Regions from separate parts of the Homo sapiens genome. Here region 2 is linked to region 1. The links are contacts of gene promoters, found by promoter capture Hi-C in blood cells and fetal thymus (Javierre and others, 2016). All regions are on one chromosome and are shown on one strand. The core of a region is centred on a gene start or on the middle of the fragment in contact, and the rest is flanking DNA. Distances in the headings are between cores, read along the strand shown. Region 1 holds the start of UBE2J1 (ubiquitin conjugating enzyme E2 J1). Region 2 has its middle 110 kb from the start of MAP3K7.

What was found. The method cuts DNA at HindIII sites, captures the fragments that hold promoters and counts their contacts. A CHiCAGO score of 5 or more calls a contact.
Region 2: a fragment that was not itself captured here is called in contact with the fragment with the promoter of UBE2J1 in region 1 in 1 of 17 cell types (fetal thymus); the score reaches 5.6 in fetal thymus.

Annotation. Positions count from the first base shown.
Region 1 is chr6:89,348,220-89,355,557 of GRCh38, reverse strand. UBE2J1 (ubiquitin conjugating enzyme E2 J1) reads left to right here and starts at 2,836. Exons shown (of 8, transcript NM_016021.3): 1 at 2,836-3,019. The coding sequence starts at 2,989. RefSeq lists silencers at 2,375-2,474, 2,485-3,194, 3,225-3,284 and an enhancer at 2,581-3,530. The HindIII fragment of the contact is 3,504 bases long and covers 1,046-4,549 here.
Region 2 is chr6:90,473,843-90,481,180 of GRCh38, reverse strand. No RefSeq gene overlaps it. Among named protein-coding and RNA genes, the nearest start is that of MAP3K7, 110 kb to the left of the region's middle. RefSeq lists a silencer at 1,584-1,693. The HindIII fragment of the contact is 5,588 bases long and covers 1-5,376 here.

The sequences.
Region 1 (7,338 bases), core at 1,587-4,086:
AAGGACTTCTGGTTCCTAACTAAGGAAAAGATGAATTACACAGGTCAAGGATTGTGGTTCTAAGATGTTTTCTAAGATTCTGAAACATTTTAAACCTCATCTTTTGTCATTTTTATTAGTTACGAAGTCGGCTTTAAGGATTAAAAAAAAAAATCTTAAAATGAAAAAAAAAAGGAGTTTTCCTTAGGATCATCAAAAGTAAAGAAAAAATTACCCCAAATTTGATCTTGGATTAAAACTTTACCTGATATAATTTGTAAATTTTTCTTGAAAGAAATAAGTGTTCTAGTTTAAAAAAATAAGCAATTTTTGGATAAGAAATTTTCCAAGGAAATGAGCTCCCTTCCCACCCAGCTGTCAGTCAAGAATTTAGTAACCTTTAAATAAAATTACTCTTCTCTTTGTATCTGTCTTTTTGAGACAGGGTCTCGCTCTATCACCCAGGCTGGAGTGCAGTGGCACCATCATGACTCACTGCAGCCTGCTCCTCCTCTTCCATCCCCCAGAGCTCAACTGATCCTCCCTTCTCAGCCTCCAGAGTAGCTGGGACCACAGGTACGTATGCCCGGCTAATTTTTGAGTGTGTGTATATTTTTAGTAGAGATGGGTGTCACCATGTTGCTCAGGCTGATCTCGAATTCCTGAGCTCAAGTGATCTGCCCACCTTGGCCTTTTTTTTTTTTTTTTTTTTTTGAGATGGAGTCTCATTCTGTCTCCCAGGTTGATCTCGGCTCACTGCAACCTCCGCCTTCTGGGTTCAAGTGATTCTCCTACCTCAGCCTCCCGAGAAGCTGGGATTACAGGCATGCACCACCACACCCAGCTAATTTTTGTATTTTTAGTAGAGACAGGTTTTTGCCATGTTGGCCAGGCTGGTCTCCAACTCCTGACCTCAGGTGACCTGCCCGCCTTGGCCTCCCAAAGTGCTGGGATTACAGGCATGAGCCACCACACCTGCCAGCCACTTCTCTTTTCTCTGTAAATGTCTCTGCTGAGAGAAATTTTGGAATTGGCTTTGATCTTGGAGCATGATTGTAATTAAGCTTTGATATGTGCCCATAATTAAATTGTTATGGGCACATGTCCACAATAAATTGTTGTTATTGTTGTTAACCAAGGAAGGAGAGATTGTTATTCCTACTGAACCAGTCCTATGGGAGAAGAGCCCCAGGGAGCAGTGGAGGTGGTGGTGGCTAAAGGAGAGCCCCAGAGGACAACTGCACCCAGAGATTGATGGACCTTGGAGGCTGAATAGCAAAAGGCTTCTAGTACTCAGCTATCAAATAGGAACGCATTATATACAGCACCTGCTTTGCAGGCCTTGCTGTGGTAGGGCCTACTGCACAAATTAGGGGCTTTTGTAGAGCTGTGGCAGGAGAGGGTGTCAAGTGTCAGTTAATCTGAAGATTCAACACAATGAATGAATGAAGCAGCATTGGAGTTTGGTTTTGTTTGCATATCTCAGTCAGTCAGATTATCAGTTTACTATACAGAAAACAACATCAGGGAATGATTTAAAATATACCATCTAATTTTAGATATCCTTCACTTTTTTACTCCCAATTTCATCAAGAAACTCACAGATTTAGATTAACTTTAACAATAGAAAACAAATCAAATTTAAGAGTTTATGTCTTTATATAACAGAATAAAACTTGCCCAACCTGATTAACCCTTTCTATCCTCCCCACCTTCCCAATCCCTCCCTCCTTTCCTTTAGTAAGGTCCCTACTCCTTAAGTCTTTTGAACTCAGTCCTCTCTCGATCCCACACATTGGACAATGAAGCAGTAAGTGTGTCCTTTGAAGTTTAACCTTTCATATTTGTATGCTTTCCCTCACATTAAATGTAATTCCTTTTTTTGACAGCTTTTACATCTAAACAAACCAAAAAAAACAAAACTCCTGCAATGCCTAAAACATGTCGTGCACCTAACACACTACCCGAGAAAAAAATTGTTATGAATATCCAACTCTGGCCAGAGCCGTGGCTCACGCCTGTAACCCCAGCACTTTGGAAGGCCGAGGCGGGCGGATCGCTTGAGTCCAGGAGTTCGAGACGAGCCTGGCCAACACGGTGAAACCGTGTCTCTAACAAAAATACAAAAAATTAACCGGGCATGGTGGCACACACCTGTGGTCCCAGCCACGCTGGAGGCTGAGGTGGGAGGATCGCTTGGGCCCGGGAGGTAGAGGCTGCAGTGAGCCAAGATCGCGCCACTGCATCCCAGCCTGGGCGACAGAGCGGTGACACCGTCACACACACACACAAAATAAAAAATAAAAAAAATCCTATTCCATTTCCTTGTCACTGGCTTTCCCCCTCCTCACTTAACCCCCGCCCCTCGCAACAGCAACTGAATCTAAAAACAAAGCCTTTCCCAGACCCTGCGGGACCGCGCGCGGGCAGCCGGCTGCGGACAGCTTTGCAGCCGGAGCCCGGCGCCCCCTCCGAGCTCTCGAGGGCCCGGGGGTCCCGGACCTCGCCTACAGCGGGCAGGGCCGGGACGAGAGGACGAGGACGCCGCTCGCTCCTGCACCTCCCCAAGCCGGCTTCGCCGGGCGGGCGGCGGCTGGGTAGTGACCGACCGCCACGAAGCTACTGCCACGTCAGGGCAACTTCACAAATCCCGGACGAGGGCGGGTGACGCAAGCCGGGCGGCCGCGGCAGGGCTGGGCCTGCGACTACCCGAGGAGGCTGACCTCCAGCCCGGGCGCCCGGTTCAGCGCCGCCCCGGCCGGCGCCGGTGCCTGCCAGGCACTCAGGGAGGCGGGGGCGCAGTGGAGGAGGCGGCGCCATCGCGAAGCGAGCGCCTCGCCCGCACTCAGCCTTGCCACCCCGCCCGCAGTCCAGGCTGGACTGGGCGGCATTTGCCGAGGCTCCTCGGCCAGGCCCCGTCCGCCCGAGCCGCGCTGAGACCCGGGCAGCGGCCGCGTGGAGAGGAGGTGGCAGCGGCCCGGGAGGCCGGAGCCAAGCCAGCGACCCACCATGGAGACCCGCTACAACCTGAAGAGTCCGGGTGAGCAGGGCTGGGGCCCCTGGGCGAGGAGGGCGGAGTGACCCTGGACCCCGGGGTGGTCGCCGCCTCGGTCCCCTCGCGTCTGGCGCCACTCGCGGCTCAGCTCCTGGTTTCGCGCTCTACGCGAGACCGCCGCCTGCCCGGGAAGTACAGGCCGCAGGGCGAGGTGGCCGGGTGGACGTCCGCTGCCAATCCCCCGGCCGGCCAGCGCGCCCCGCAGCACCCAGCCTCTCCCTTTTCTCATCTTCGCCTGGTCCCGTAGAGCTGGGTCAGAAACTCATCCCTGAGAACAGGTGTAAAGGTGATGTCGGTGGGCGATAGTCATCAACCCCCTCGCTGTACCTGGTCGCTATTCCCTCCCTGTCGCTGCCACCGGACTTCTATTTACTTCTATTTACTGCCGGCTGATTTACTCACATTTGAGGAGTTGGTCGTTTAAATATCCTATTTGCAGCACTTGGGCGAATACAATTACAGACATAAAGGAAATGTTCTGTAACTAAACCAGTTAACTATAGAGCTAAAGCAAAACAAAACAACAACAAAAAAACACCTCGTTGAGCCCTGTTCTTGAGAGCTAACCTTGATTTTTGCCAGACTGGCTAATATGAAATGTATCTGTATTCAGTCGTAGCGATTCCTTTCCTGCATTTAATGATCCTGCTTTATATTTACACAAGCAGTCCCAGCAATCCTAGCCTCTAATTACTTTCTGGTGCATTATAAAGATAAGCAACTAGCTTTCTCAGCTTAATAAAACAGGCTTGAAATGAATCATTGGATCCTCTAAATGGTATTTTTTCTATCTGTACCTTGATACATTTTGTCAGGGGGAAGAAACTCCACAGTTAACTCTGCATGATAAACTCTAGGATATTAGTGATGATTTCACCAACTTTTGCTGTTGCTTAAAATTTCCTTCCAAAAAAAGCTGTTTCTCAGTAGGAATTAGCAAGACTAGCATCCTTGTGGAAAGAGTTGACACTGTGAATCTTTGGGTTTTTTGTAAGGTTTCAGAATATGCAAAAACCCCAGAAAAGCCTGAGGATATTGATTGGAGGGAGCTTTGTTAGCCTGAGTGCTGTCAGGCTAAGAAATGTCCTTAGGTGACCAAGTGTGTAGAACTGGTCATAATATTTTAGGAGCCACTGACTCCTTAAAAAAATCTGATGAAGACCTGGCACGGTGGCACACGCTTGTAATCCCAGCACTTTGGGAGGCTTGAGCCCAGGAGGTGGAGAGCAGCCTGGCCAACATGGTGAAACCCCGTCTCTACTAAAAACACAAAAATCAGCCGGGCATGGTGGTGGCGCACTCCTGTAGTTCCAGCCACTCGGGAGGCTGAGGCAGGAGGATGGCTTGACCCGGGGAGGAGGTTGCAGTGAGCCGAGATCGCGCCACTGCACTCCAGTGTGGGCGACAGAGCGAGACTCCATCTCAAAAAAAAAAAAAAAAAAAAAAAAAAAAAAGAGAATCCCGGGGTGGGGAGGGAGGAAGAAAAGACCAAAGAGAAAGAGGGAAAGAAAAGCTTAATTTTTAAGCTAGATGGTAAAATGATTGAATTATTTACATTGTGGTATATTTAACTGGAGCTGTTTGGGTAAAAATGTATGGTGGCTCCCTGGTCACACGGTTCCTTAGGACAGCAGAGGTGCTTAGTGAAAGGTCCAGAGGATAATGCACATGTGAGTAGTAGTGCAGTTTAGAATGGAGAACTGGTGGAACCCAAGAGATTGTTGTCAGAAAACATCGCTCAATTTCGATAGGTTAGACTTAATACTATGATGATAAGCTTTTAAAAATCTCCAGAATTTTGTATATTTCCAAAGTATGTGAACTATTGTCAGCTGGTTGAGCTTTGGTTGACATGCTTCTAGCTGTGTCATAAATTGCTTCCTTTTTCTGGTTTCATTTCCTCAAAGATAGTGTTGCTGCTCTAAAAAAAAAAACACAATGCTTCTTAAAAATCTATTTTTGTTAGTGTGTGAATTATTTGGAGTTCATGGAGAAGTTGAATTAGGTAAGATATGGGACTTACTGAAAATGCTGGGAGGCATTGTGAAAATACTTCCTTCCTTTGCTTTATTCTCAGTCCTGTGGTATTTTTAGAGTAATGCCTGTGTGAAGGGGAGCAACTGAAAACTCCAATTTCCTGTGTATGGCAGGGTGCACACACACACACACGTAAAATACCAACATACCAGACAAACAAAAAACAACCACACAATGTGAGGGATATAATCTTTTACTCTTTATCTGATGTGGGATTGTCTTTGATGTATGAGTGGAAAGATTAAGTGAAGACAATACAGATAGCTGGTTAAGGGCCAGTGTACTAGCATGTGGATATAGTAAATTTTTTCATTTCATAGGTGGGGAAACTTTTTGCTTTATGGTTTTTTTTTGGAATGGACTTGTGATTATGGATAGAGCTGTTGTGTAGGATCACCTCACAGTAGTTGTCTGTGGTAGTTGTCAGTAGTTGTCTATGGATCTGCTACTGTAGTAGCAGTAGTTGTCTATGGATCATGCTACTTGTCTATAATCTGTCAATAGTTGTCTATGGATCAAGCTACTTGACCCGTGTTTGGGTCTGCTCTGGCCAAGGAAGTAGGGTCTTATAGTACAAAGTGAAGAAATGTGTATAAAGCACCTCCTTTGGCAGCTTCTTCATCAGGGGGCCATTGACATGTGCAGCAGGTGGTGGGAGTATAAGAGACTGGTGCAAAAGTACCCACTGCCTCCACCAGAAGTCTAAGAGTTACCTATCCATGCCATTGGTGTCAACTGCACCTTCCCACTAATCCACTCAAGGTTTCATGTCCAACTCAGGCCCTTCTCGTAAGCTATAGATACACAGAACTTATGGTGACTCAACATCTTCATTTCCCATAGAGTGAAAAAAATCTCTGTAAGTATAAAGACAAAACTCATCAGTTTTCTTCTCCTCCCCTAAACTTGCAGTTTACCCTAGTATTTCATATCTCAGGGATAGACAGCACTCAGGCACCTATGGGAGTCATTTTTTATTTCTTGGTCGCTTCCTTGCTCCATCCCTGCCCTGAAACACACAACTCAATACACACACAGAAACACATATATCTAATCAGTCACTGTTGTCACCAGATCAATCAAAACAAAAACTGATTACCCCCAAATTGAAAAATTTTCAGTAGCTTTCTGATAGCTGTCAATAAAGTTCAAAGTAAACTGCTTAGCTTGGCCTACAGGGCTGCTCATGATTGACCCTGCCCTTCCTCACCAGCCTCACTGTCCACCACTCTTATGCTCTTCCTCATTTTCTTTTTTTTTGAGGCAGGGTCTCCCAGCCTGGAGTGCAGTGGTGCCATCACAGCTCACTACAGCCTCAACCTCCTGGGCTGAAGTGATTCTTCCACCTCTGCCTCCCGAGTAGCAGGGACCACAGGTGTGTGCCACCACACCCAGCTAATTTGTGTATTTTTTGTAGAGACGAGGGTTTCACCATGTTGCCCAGGCTGGTCTCAAACGCCTGAGCTCAAGTGTTCCCTCCACCTTGGCTTCCCAAAGTGGTGAGATTACAGGTGAGAGCCACTGCACCAGGCCTGCGTTTTTACCTATCCATTTTGCCTGAATGACTCTCTAGCTGGAGTAGCTTTTCTCACTTAGGTGCTTTGGTTCCTGTTGGAACCTCTGCTTAGAATGCCTTCCTTTAAATCCATCTGAAATTCCTATAGTTCTTCAAGCTTTAAGGTTCAGCCTTGTCTAGCTCCCCTAGGCAGACTAAAGTAGTTCCTATATATACTTGTACATATATACTTGGTCAATATTACCACTTGGTTGTAATTATTTTCATGTCTTTCTCTACTGACTGTTACGGAAGACAAGAAGCAGGTCTTGGTCATTGTTTTATCTCCAACACTCAGACATTCTTTAAATGTTTGTTGAACTGATACATTTGCAGGGTCCTCCTGGGCAGAAACATCACTCTGTAGGCATTTGCTTAAGTACCTTCATTATGGGAGCAGGAAGAGGCAGTTAGGGAGCATGCCTTCCTTAATATACCTGTCTCCTGCATTTCACTCATGCTTTGGGAATTGATAATATCAAGATAATTGCTTTTGAAGAGGAATCCATATATGGGAAGCAGTGGCCTGTAGAAGATCCCTTTATTTTTAGCTGTATACAAACCCCAATGTGAGGCTAGTGAGCTAGCCAAGGTGTGTGAAGAATGCTAATGCCTAGGCCCACAGCACCTAGAGCATGGCTCCAGAGTGTCCATGTGGCCTCTATAAGAAAGAAGAACAAGAGCAGGCATCCAGGTGCCACCCCTTCCTTTC
Region 2 (7,338 bases), core at 1,333-3,832, 1.1 Mb before region 1:
CATTCCTCACTGCAACTCAGATGGAGGAAGCCATCTAATTCTTGGGAATTTAGACACTCCTGTAGTAACGTAGCACAAAAATGGGCCTGGCTCAATCTGCTCTTCACATTTTGGTAATTTAAAAGGACATAACGGCATTTTATTTCAATGGTAATTGCAAACTCATGCAGAAAATGTAAATGCACATTTCATGATTAGCTTGCAGCATAAACTATGGCTTCTATTAATGTATTCCAATTTGTAATTCTTTTCACAGTATGAGATTTGAAAGCTGTGATTAAAATTAATTAGGTTAAGTAAAGTTTATCCCCCCTGAGCACTGCTATTGGGAACAAGCAAGAGGAAAACGCGAGCTACATCTGGCTCTGCAGGAAGCTGTGTCTTCACAAGAAGTCGGCTGACTTCTTTTCTCCCCACAGAGGTTGCATGCTGCTTATTTGGCATATCTCAACCACCATGTATCTCCTCAAGGAGCTAATTGAACCATTAAACTATTCTTTGCTGGCTCACAAAACCACATAGGCTGTGACTACATCATCTTCAAATAAGGACAGTAGGTGGATCCATCAATTGTTTAAATACAGTAAATCTTGGAGGGAAAAACACATACACCTAGTAAACCTGAGGTAGTGGTGGTTACCCCAAATCCAGTACCATAATTGCTATAGAAGAGGTGCCAAATGAGGGAACAATCATAAAGACAGTAACTAACACCAGTACAGGCCTCTCTGCTTTACACATAACTGTCTCAAACATTACCTCACTGGATCGCCTTAGCAATCCTGACAAGTTCTTATTATATAGTCCCATTTTACAGATGAAGGTGCTGATGTTAAGTGAGGAGCCCAGAATCAAAGGGCACTGGAGAGTAGACCAAGGTCTTTGGAGTTCCTGTCCTATGCTCCTTTGCGCTCACACACCACACTGGAGAAGTTTAAAATTCCCTAACAGTAGGTTTACAGACTATTGACCCTTAGGATCTTGAACCTATCACTTCAACACAACACCCAAATTTTGTGTATCAAGACCTTGGCACATTTTGGGGTAGAGCTGGTGTAACTGTTGCTATGTCAAGGAGAAAAGCACCCACAGAGAACAGGCCCATGTAAGCGTTGTTTGATATTCTTGGGGCAGTTGATTCAAGGGAAAAACCCACATTCCGAAACCAAAGGGTCTCCATAGATAAAGACTACTTCCCTGAAATTCAGAAATTAAAAAGAAATGCAAAGAACGTGTGCTTAGAAGCCAGAGAACATGGGGCCAGGGAAGCAGCATGTTAGAAAGAGGAGAACAAGTGGCTCCACATTTCAACCTCCCAGCCATTTACTGAGAGGTACACTTGGGGAATTAACTTCCATTTTTTTTCCTAGAGAAAACAGAAGGTTTAAGCCACTTCCTCCAAGTTATATTGGGAGTTGTCACTCAAAGGAGCCTTCGAACTCCTAGGCTGGTGCTCTTCACTCTATTTTGACTCTCACAAACTTTTCAGTGCTTTGTGGGGGGAATGATGAAATTAAATTAGGAAATTAGCATGCCAAGTTTTCAATAAAATATTCATCTTACTAAATTTTCATGAGGAAGATGCTAGTGCTTAGTGATTGACTGCACAGCTCGGACTACGGGATCCAGGACCCTTCCCAAAGCGAGCCGTACTTTTTTAAACCACTAGATGGCAGTACAAGCACAGCCTTCCAAGGACCCCTTAACGTTGCCTGCTCACAGCAGTGACGGGAGAGTTTTCCTACCCAGGCAGGGTGAGTCACCGCACAGCTCCAGGGTGTGGTGTCACTGTCAGTGTGTTTGGTAATCTGGAGTTTTCTCTGTGCTCTCCAGCCTCACCAGAGGCTGTGTAGTTTTGCTGGGGAGATACCTACTATGGGATCTTGAATATAGTCAATGAGAGAAGAGCTTAACTGGACTCCCCACTGTTTAAATACCAAGTCATTTCCATCCTTATGAATAAGCAGGGCCACTCGGATCCAGAAGGCGACACTCCAGATCTCCTCAACTACAGAAGCAACTCCCCAGGCTGCAAACACTCCAATCCCTTCCGCGTTGTGACCACCTGTAGAGTACGAGCTGTTAAAACGAAACCAGAGACTCAGAGGTAGGGATTTACTGGCAGCAAATTTCTTCCAAAACATGATGTTTAGCACGCATCTCAAAGCATCTTTTAGGATCATCCAGCCTGCTTGCCTCTAGAAAGGAGCACCCTGCACCAATGTTATTAATATTAGTTAATGCACATTGAACACACAGTAAGTGCTACATTATATACTTTATGTAGATTACCTCATTTAATCTCACAATGGCTATGAGAGGTAGGTGTTACGAATGGCCCTATTTTCAAACAAGAAGGCTGAATATTAGAAAGGTGAAGTGACTTGCCCAAGCCCCAGAATTTGAAATCAGGGCTCTCTAATTGAAAGTTAGAATTTGACTCGTGATATTAGTGTTTAGCACATTGTTTAACAGGGCATAGCATCTCACTTCTCCCATCTCTGCCACAGAAGGTTGCACACCCATGTTCTGGTTCAGAATTCTTTGGTGAGGTCAAGCAAGATGGCAGGAGGGAGAGCCTGAGCTGACCCTCCCTACCAGCCTGGGACCTGAATGCAGTTCCTACAGGCCTGGTTCAGCGGAGGTTCAGCTCAACAGCCCCATCCCTAGGGCCAAGGAGGCTTAGCAATCATCAGTTTTGTTCCTGACAAACAGAAGGCTGAGATGGCCCAGATGAAGCGGGGGGAGGGGTGGCTCAGCAACACACCCAGTACATATGCAGCGATTCCTGTGTGCTTGCCTCATCTTAGTGAGTGTCCTAGTCCATTTCGGCTGCTATAACAAAATACCTGAGACTGGGTAATTTATAAAGAAAAGGAATTTATTTCTCCCAGTTCTGGAGGTTAGGAAGTCCAAGATCAAGGTGCTGGCAGGTTCAGTGTCTGATGAAGGCTCATTCCTTCCTCATAGATGAGGCCATCTAGGTGTTGTCACCTGGTGGAAGAGCAACAGAGGAGTCTAAGCTGGCTCCTTCCAACCCTCTTACAAGGCACTAAACCCTTCATGAGGGTGGAGCCCTCACTACTTAAACACTTCCCAAAGGCCCCACCTCTTAAGACAATGCAGTGCAGATTAAGTTTCAACACATGAATTTGGGGGACATTCAGACTATAGCATGAGTTTTATCAAATGTCAACCCCTGTTTCTTCTTTGTGTCTCTGGATTGAAACTTTACTTAGCTCTTAGATTCATTTTGAAGATAACATAGTGCAAGATCGATTATCTTAATTCCACTCATGGAAACACAACCTGGAATTATAAATCTTCCTCTAGGTTTATTTCCCAAATGCTTGTTCATGATGATTCTTTCACTGGTCTGCATCAAAATGAGCACAAAAGAACAATGTGGTAAGTTTTTCATAAAGCTACTTTGAGATTTACAAGATAATTTCTTGTTTTGAGATTCTGTCCTTCCTATTTCTTCATGACTAAAATGTTTCTCTTAGGGAGGAATGGAAGTTGATTTATATCTAATGATGTCCCCTGGCAAGATAAAAACTTGGCAAGCCAATGGCTCTCTCCTGTTTTCGTTTTCTTTTTCTTTTTTTAAGGCAGGGTGTCATTTCGTTGCCCAAGCTGGAATGCCCAGAGTCTTGTTTTGTTGCCCACGCAGTGTGATCACGGCTCACTGCAGCCACAACCTCCAGGCTCAATCAATCCTCCCACCTCAGCCTCCCAAGAAGCTGGGCCTACAGGTGTGTGCCACCACACCTGGCTAATTTTTTCTTTTTTGTAGAGATGGGGTCTCACTATGACTGGTCTCGAATTGTACTCAAGCAATTATTCCACTTTAACCTCCCAAAGTGCTGGTATTACAGGCACTGGGCCTTCTTTTCCTTTTTAAAAAATTTTACAGATCAGAATCTGGGAATCGCAGCTCTGGGCAGTATTCAAACTTCGTTCACCTGAGCACCTAAGAGGTGTTTTATATACTGTCATCTAGTGGTCATCCTAGCTCACCCTCGCCAACTCTTCCCTTTGAGAACACAAATGGTAGGACTATGGAGCCCCGACGTGTGTGTGTGTGTGTGTGTGTGTGTGTGTGTGTGTGTGTGTGTACATTAAGATGCTGACAGCAGAGATGTGTTAGCGTAAAAAAATGCAGGTTTTGAAGATTGCGTAGAAATATTCAGAGTGAACAAACCTCTGGCACCAGACTCATGTGGGCCGAATTGAAAGCAGGTGCGTGGGATTAGCACTCTATTTTTTCCAACACACCTAGAGGGCAGTAGCACAGAGACATTCATGCTCAGGAGTGTTATCAGCTAATAGGACATGAAAAGTTCTAGAGGAAAAGCCTTCAAAACTGCAACCAAATATGTTCACAATTGAACAACAGAAAATACCCCTTCAAACGCTCAGAAGACCCGTCAACCTTTCAAAAATGGGTAAGTATATATTTCTTCAAGAGCCTGGCACCCTAGAGGCAGGAGGGGGGTGGTGCGGGTTTGCAAGTGTCAGGCAGTCCTTGCCTTTTGAGTATCCTCCATGTACACATGGCCTGTCCACTAGTGCTCCCACGTCCACCTCTGTCCTGCCCTCCAAGGCTGCTGCAGTCTCTGCAGCTGTCTCCCCTCGGTCTCCCATTGACATCCTCCTCCCAGCCAGCCGCTCCCCGTCCAGACAAAGGGGACTCCATTTCTCACTGTTAACTTTTTTTTTTTAGGTGGAGTCTCGTTCTGTCGCCCAGGCTGGTGTGCAGTGGCGTGATCTCAGCTCACTGCAACCTCTGCCTCCCAGCTTCAAGCAATTCTCCTGCCTCAGCCTCCTGAGTAGCTGGGATTACAGGCACCTGCCACCACACCCAGCTAATTTTTGTATTTTTAGTAAAGATAGGGTTTTGCCCCGTTGGCCAGGCTTGTCTTGAACTCCTGGCCTCAAGTGATCCAACCACCTCAGCCTCCCAAAGTGCTGGGATTACAGGCGTGAGCCACCACCCCCAGCCCACTTCTGACTGTTTAATAACAAAGCAGAGAGATGGCAAAAAGCCCCAAGGCTGGGGTATACAGGAAACTGGTGGTTGGCTCTTTAGAAGGCCTGCATGTGGACAGCCCTTCTGAAACCCAGAAGACCACATATAAAAGGAATTTCAACCATGTGGTGTTCTGTAATTCACCTGAGTCATCTTCAATTGAAACACAGAGAAGCAGTTTTTGGACCTTGGTGCACAAGCAGGCAGCATATAACTTGCTAGCAGTTATGTTCTGAAATGCCAAGTGTATTGCTACTATTTGAAATTTGAAACACATTCACACTTAAAACCAGTGAATGACAGTGCTTAGGTTCCCAGGCTAGCTCAGGAAATCCCTTTAAGCTTTTCTGTATTTCTGAACTTTGGTTCTGACCTCCTTCCAGCCACCTGAGCTTTCCCTATGCTGGGCAGAGGGTGGGGATGAGGAGGTTCTGCAGAAACTTAATTGTTAATTCTTTTAATGATTCTCCAGTACAGACCCTTAGCACATCAGAAAAAAAAAAAAAAACAGAAGTAAATAAATCTAAATATCATTAATCACATTTGCCAAGGGGATGTGTTCAAAGAATTCTTAGAGAAGGCAGCAGCCAACCGGTACAGAAAGAAATTCCAAGAGTGCAAACAGAATTGTTATGACGCCCTGGCTCTCCTGGGCTTCTGGACACCAGGATTTACTTTTACTTGTTTCAGTTTTCTCCTTGACTGTCTGCCAGTCAGACTGTATGCTCCAGGACAGCTCTGCACCCCTATGGGTGTGGCTCATAGTAGGTACACAATAAGCATCTAATGTACCGAACTGCCAAAACCAGACATAATCTATTCCTTTCATTCATTCTATTTACATTAATCAAGTGCCTACTATGAAGAAGGTTTGTGCCAAGTACTAGGATCAACAGTGAGCAAGGCAGATCAAGTCCATGCTTTCATAGCTTGTCTAGGCTGAATATTGAGTCCTCCAAAGATGTTTATATCTCAATCCCCAGAACCTCTGAATATGTTAGCTTACATGGCAAAAGGGATTTTGCAAGTGTGATTGGGTTAAGGATCTTGAGATGAGACAATTATCCTGGATTATCCAGGCAGGCCTGATGTAATCACAAAGATTCTTCTGAGAGGGAGGCAGGAATATGGGTTAGAGAGCTGAGGACCACGATCCAAGGAATACAGGCAGCCTGTAGCCCCTGGGAAAGGCCAGGACACAGATTCTCCTCTGGAGCCTCCAGAAGGAACACAGCCCTGCTAACACCTTGATTTTGACCCAGTAAAACTGATCTTGGAATTCCAACTTCCAGAACCGTAAGATAGTGAATTTGTGTGAACCATAAGATAGTGAATTTGTGTGTACTTAAAGTCACTGTGTTTATGGTAACTTGTTACGACAGCAATACGAAATGAATACAAGCTGAATGTAGCTTTAGTTTATGAAACATCTTGCCTCATGTTTAACAGACATTTAAAAAGTCCCTATACAATGTGATAATGGAAGAAATATAGAGTGCCATTAGCTCATTCACCTTATTATGGCTTCGCAGACTGGCTTAATAATTTATTCTTCTCTTTGCCAATCAGAGTACCTACCTATCTGAGGCTATACCTTCCTTGGGTAGCAGGAATCCTATTTGTAGCTTCCAGTGCCAGGGCCTGAGGCTGCAAATACTTATGGAAGTCATTGGGTAATGAATCCTTCACCATCGTGACAGTTTGTACTTAGGAGGAATGTTGTTCCTTAATTTTCAGTCAAGTTCAACTTGGTTTTCCAGTCATGGCACCTTTAAGAAATAGAGGGGAGCTCTTATTTGCATCCCCTTTTTCCAAAGGGGAAACTGAGGCAGCAATCTCAAGTTTCCTTCACCACCCAGTAGCAAGAATATGAGCTCAGCTCTTTGACACCTAAAACAAGGGTGTTCCTCTGGCCTCTACTTATTGTTTCCCAAGGTAATAAGGAGGCAAGAGAAAAGGATTACACTTATAGGAGGAAGGAGATTATCAGGGTACCAGAGGGAGAGGAGAGGAATTTAGGGGAAAAAAACTAATACGAAATAAGAGAGACCTCCGTTTTAAAACTTAAAACCTGGGGGAAAATTTGACAACTGGATGCATTTCATTTTGAAACTTACTTAACCCTAAAAGTCAAAATGAAACTCCAGGGGTGCAAACCCACAACAATCAAAATAAAAACAAGTTTTTACAAGCCTGCTGCAAAGCTAAATATAGATTTTCAGCTAGACCTACTCACCTCCAAGTTCATGACTTTGAACGATTTCAAACGTTATTTCAAAAAAGAATGTCAAACAAAAGAAAAGTAG